Linked DNA regions of Homo sapiens: region 1 is linked to region 2. Evidence: promoter capture Hi-C in human tissues and cell types (Jung and others, 2019). All regions are on one chromosome and are shown on one strand. Each heading gives the region's core, a stretch centred on a gene start or on the middle of the fragment in contact. The rest is flanking DNA. Distances are from core to core; before and after follow the strand shown.

Region 1 (2,880 bases), core at 147-2,646, 270 kb before region 2:
ACTCCCCTCCCCAGTTAACCTCTCTGATCCCAAGTGTGTCTCTCCAGCAGGGAGGAGGGCTATTGCAGCCAGGGATCCCCTTTCTGAGGCTTGGGACCCATTATTGGGCAGCTCTGGGACAGGTGGACGGTGACTTGGCCCACACTCGGTCCAGCTGCAACCCTGAGAACCCGCTTGGTTTGGCTGTGTCTCCTGGAGGCCCTCAGGTATTTCAACCTGTAGGACCCAAACCCAGTCCTTCACCTGCTGCAGGGCCAGCCCTGGACACCCCTGCCCCTGCCTGATTTGGAGCAGCCAATTCAGCCCCTGTCATTGGACTCTGGCCTCTTGTGCTCAGTACAGAGGGTCAGACCTTGGCCGCCTGCCTGGACAGGGCCAGGTCACCACCACCCACCCCCAGCTCCCTTGGGTTCCCAGCAAGATCCTGTCCTTCCTCTACTCACAGCTTCCTGGGCTCTGGGACCTGGGGTCCAGTCCCCACTCCTCATGGGGAGGAGTCCCCCCACGCCCCAAGCAGTTGACTCCCGCACTGGTGGGGGGTCCGCTCGCCCTCAAGCTCTGCAGGCCCAGCTTGGTCTCCCCAGCCTCTTCACTTTCTCCACGGCTCCCTCCACCTACCTGGCCCTGAGAGCTCCCCAGGGAAGCCATTTCCTCCCAGGAAGCCCCTCCTCTTCTCGCCCCTGCCCTTACACCAAGGCATCTGGGCCTACTCTTAGGGAGAGGGTGATGGTGGAGGAAAGGGAGCCTCAGAGGAGGCCAAGTGTAAAGCACCCGGTCTCCTGTGCCTCCCAGCCCCAAGACGACCTCTGGGCCACCGGAGTCCAGACCTGGTCCAAGAGGCGAGGTCCCCCTGGGAAGTGCCTGAAAAGTACCCTGGAGGACATTTGGAAACAAAGACAAGGTTTCCTGGTGCCCAGCAAGCCCTCCCCCACCTCCCCTGCTCCTGTCTTGGCCAGGGCCTAAGTCGCACTCACGGGGCAGGGGTGGGGCCGCCCAGGATCAGGACCACGGGGCTGGGGGGGTGGACAGCGCCCTTTCCACCTGGGTCGCTGGGCACTGGGGTGTCACTGGGAGGGACACGCAGGAGGGACAGACACGCTACCTCACTCACGGGCGAGAACTAAGCACCTACTGTGGACCCGGCGTCTAGGCCCGCGACAACGCCAGTCTTCGCCCCCCAGGGGCCTCGTCCCGGGGCCGCGGAGGCCACGTGCAGTTCCCCGCCCACCCTGAGGTACCGGCCCCGCCCCACGCCCAGCTCGGACCTCCAGGATTGCGGGACCCGCCGGGGAGGGGCGGGGCCGGGGCGGGGCCAGGAGGAGGGCGGACTGGGCGGGCGCGGGCGGGACGGAGCTGCGGCGGCGGCGGGTCCCGCGGGCGGGAGCGCCTGGCGGCCGAGTCAAGCCGCCGCCTCGACCCAGGGCCCGCGGGCCAGGAGAGCGCTCGGCGGGTAAGCCTCGGCGGCGGGTCTCGGCGGGTCTCGGGGGTCTCGCGGGGGGGCGGTCTCCGCGTCTGGAAGGGGCTCGGCGGGCCTTGGCGGTCTGGGGGCTCTCGGCGGGTCTCGGGGGTCTCGGGGGAGTCTCGGGGTCCCGACAGGTCTCGGCGGGTCTCGGGGGTCTCGGGGGAGTCTCCGGGGAGTCTCAGGGGTCCCGGCAGGTCTTGGCAGGTCTCGGGGGAGTCTCAGGGTCCCGGCAGGTATGGGCGGGTGTCGGGGGTCTCGGGTGCGCAGCAGCCTCCCCCGGGCCCCGGGGCCTCCGTGTCCTTGCCAAAGGACGCACGGGGCCTGGGCACGGCGGGCAGTGCCCGAGGGAGCGCGGCTTCGGGGCGGGGGCCGGGTGTCCCTTGCCGGGGGCTCAGGGGTGGGAGGCGGTGCGACGCGTCTGTTTCGCACCCCTCGCGCCCCTCTGGCCCCGCGGCGGGGCCCCTTTACGCGACCCTCCCCACAAGACTCAAAGGCTGCGGCGGGCACTCGCTCTCCGCCCTTCCCGGAATCCAAACTTCCCTCTGCAGCGGCCGCGCTTCACGGAGGGCAAGAAAAGCCGCCCACTGGCGCTGATTCACACTGAAGTGTGAGTGACTGATAGCCGGGCGTCTGAGACTCTCATGGGCAACAGGGAATCTCAGGGGTGGCAGAGGGACTGGAGGAGTTAGGGGGCGGGGACAGCCCCTTCCACCTGTACGCTGGCCTCCCTGCAGCCCAGCACTTTCCCGCTGCTCTGGGCCTCGGCTCCCTGGGGGTATTGAGGGCCTGAGCCCTGCTGTGGGGAGCCTTCTGCTGGTGCTCCTTTCCGTGAGCACCTCCTATCCCCTCTCTGTGCCTCAGTTTGCTCATCTGTTGACACTGGGGACAGCTGTGCCTCCTGGTCTAGTGGCCACACTTAAGTCCTTCGAATTGGCTGTGGCCAGGGGCGGGTACTCCGTGTGGGCTGCTGGGGTGGACAGCCTGCCTGGATGACATGTGTGTGGCCTTGCAGGTGACATGGGCCGGTGATGCAATGTGTAGAATTGTTTCCACAACCGCCTGAAGGCAGGGCCCACAGCCTCCTCCTTGCCGAAGCAAGCCTCTGGGTTCAGGTCAGCCCTGCACCAACTCCATGAGCCTGGACAAGCTCCTGCCCTCACTGGCTCAGGCCCTGTGGGACCAGAGGAGGGGCTGGGCTCCACCCCCTCCTGGTTCTTCCCACTCTGTCCACTGTCTCCTCTACGTAGACACCGTCGAAGGGCCCTCTTGGAGCCCAACCTCAGGGCCCCACTCCAGGCACTCCACTCCTGGCAGGACAGGAGGCCTGGGACGAGGGCTGCAAGGGAGTGAGGATTCTGTCTATCCCCTCTCCCTGCCACCCGCCAGGCTCCCTTTGCCTGGCTCTGTGCCCTGCGTTA
Region 2 (2,700 bases), core at 52-2,551:
ATTCTGGGACCTGCACCATTTGTGAATTGTTTTTTTTTTCCTTGATCAGCTAAACTCTGTTCAATTCAATTTGTTGGAAGTTTTTAACATACCAATGGTGCACCAAGGTTCCAATTTCTCCACTTCCTCATAAATAAGTCATTTTAAATGGCTTTTCAGTATTCCAATATTTGGAAGTATTAATGTTTCTACCAATTTTCTATTTTTGGACATTGAGGTTGTTTCATTTTTTTTTTCTTTTTTTGAGACAGAGTCTCGCTCCGTCACCCAGGCTGGAGTGCAGTGGCCTGATCCCGGCCCACTGCAACCTCCACCTCCCTCCTCAGCCTCCTGAGTAGCTGGGATTACAGGTGCATGCACCACCACACCCAGCTAATTTTTGTATTTTTAGTAGAGATGGGGTTTCACCATGTTGGTCAGGCTGGTCTCAAACTCCTGACCTCAGGTGGTCCACCTGCCTTGGCCTCCCAAAATGCTGGGATTACAGGCCTGAGCCACTGCGCCTGGCCTCATCTTCTTGATATTAATGTTGCTTTAACATCTTTGTCCCTGTGTTTTTTGTTTTTTTTTTTGAGACGGAGTCTCATTCATTCTGTCACCCAGGCTGGAGTTCAGTGGCGTGATCTCAGCTCACTGCAACCTCTGTCTCCTGGGTTCCAGTGATTCTCCTGCGTCGGTCTCCTGAGTAGCTGTGTTCCTGGGTCTTTCGATGGTTATTTAATACTTCCCTACAGTAATGCCCTGTGCGTACATGCTAAGTGTGATGAAATGGTTGGCACAGTTAAATCTTTTGAAAGACATTGCCAAGTCACTCTTCAGAAAAGTGATAGGAGGTCATAGCAATTTTAAGAAGTCCTCATTTCTACATTTCCTTACTAATCTCGGTTGGTGTCTCTTCAATCTTTCCTCACACTTTTCTTGGGTTTTTCCTGAATCATGAGTCTACTACATTTACACATTTTAAAGCATCTTTAGAAACAGGATCTCATTTTGTTGCCCAGGCTAGAGTTTGGTGGCATGATTATAGCTCCTCATACTCCTGGGCTCAAGTGATCCTTCCACCTCTGAAACCCCAAAATTTGAGAAAGGTCTCATTTAATTTAGAAAGTTTATTTTGCCAAGGTTGAGGGTGCACACCTGTGATGATATACGAGTTAAAAAGAAATTATTTAGGCAGATACTGAGGGTAAGAAAGTCCTCGGTAAGGTTTTCTTTTCAATGAAAAGCAGCCCCCAAGCATTTTCTTTTCTAACAAAGAGCAGCCTGTAAAATCGAGCTGCAGACATACACAAGCAAGCTGGAAGCTTGCACAGGTGAATGCTGGCAGCTGTGCCAATAAGAAAAGGCTACCTGGGGCCAGGCAGATCCAACATGGCGGCTCCATCTTCCCTTTCCTTGTCAACCATGTGCACAGTAAGGAGCAGGCAACATAGTGTCCCCCGAGTAGAGACCAATTTGCATAATAAAAGGTGAGGGTAGGGTGGGCAGCTTCTTTGCATGCTATGTAAACATTATGCCTGGTCCAACCAATCTTTGGGCCCTGTGTAAATTAGACACCACCTCCTCAAGCCTGTCTATAAAACCCTGTCCATTCTGCCGCAGGCTGGAAGACCCACTGGGGCACCCCTCTCTCTCTATAGGAGACAGCTATTCATTTTTCTCTTTCTTTCACCTATTAAAGCTCCACTCTTAACCCCACTCCGTGTGTATCTATGTTCTTGATTTCCTTGGCATGAGGCAATGAACCTTGGGTATTACCCCAGAACCTTGGGTATTATGCCACTTCAGTGACACAGCCTCAGGAAATCCTGATGACATGTTCCCAAGATGGTCGGGGCACAGCTTGGTTTTATACATTTTAGGGAGACATGAGACGTCAATTCATATATGTAAGAAGTACATTGGTTCCGTCCAGAAAGGCGGGGACAACTTGAGGCAGGGAGAGAGCTTCTAGGTCACAGGTAGACAAATGGTTGCATTCTTTTGAATCTCCGATAAGCCTTTCCAAAGGAGGCAATCAGAATATGCGTCTATTGACTGGGCGCAGTGGCTCATGCCTGTAATGCCAGCACTTTGGGAGGCGGAGGTGGGTGGATCACCTGAGGTCAGGAGTTTGAGAGCAGCCCGGCCAACATGGTGAAACCCTGTCTCTACTAAAAATACAAAAAATTAGCTGGGCGTGGTGGCGGGCGCCTGTAATCCCAGCTACTCGGGAGGCTGAGGCAGGAGAATAGCTTGAACCCAGAAGGAAGAGGTTGCAGTGAGCTGAGATGGTGCCATTGCACTCCAGCCTGGGCAACAAGAGTGAAACTCCATCTCAGAAAAAAAAAAAAAAGGCCTGGGCAAAGTGGCTCACGCCTGTAATCCCAGCACTTTGGGAAGCCGAGGCGGGCAGGTCACAAAGTCAGGAGATTGAGACCATCCTGGCTAACATGATGAAACCCCATCTCTACTAAAAAATACAAAAAACTAGCTGGGTGTGGTGGCGAGCACCTGTAGTCCCAGCTACTCGGCAGGCTGAGGCAGGAGAATGGCGTGAACCGGGGAGGCGGAGCTTGCAGTGAGCCGAGATCACACCACTGCACTCCAGCCCGGACGACAGGGCAAGACTCTATCTCAAATTAAAAAAAAAAAAAAAAAAAAAAAAAAAGAGAGAGAGAATATGCATCTATCTCAGTGAGCAGAAGGATGACTTTGAAT

What was found. The method cuts DNA at HindIII sites, captures the fragments that hold promoters and counts their contacts. A contact is called where the count stands out against the background at its distance.
Region 1: a contact is called between the fragment with the promoter of SH3BP2 here and a fragment that was not itself captured in region 2, in 1 of the 25 tissues and cell types used here (mesenchymal stem cells).

The regions. Positions count from the first base shown.
Region 1 is chr4:2,791,689-2,794,568 of GRCh38, forward strand. It overlaps SH3BP2 (SH3 domain binding protein 2), which reads left to right and starts at 1,397. Exons shown (of 13, transcript NM_001122681.2): 1 at 1,397-1,450. RefSeq lists a silencer at 1,115-1,464. The HindIII fragment of the contact is 44,064 bases long and covers 1-2,880 here.
Region 2 is chr4:3,059,364-3,062,063 of GRCh38, forward strand. It overlaps HTT-AS. Among named protein-coding and RNA genes, the nearest start is that of HTT, 14 kb to the right of the region's middle. The HindIII fragment of the contact is 6,114 bases long and covers 1-2,700 here.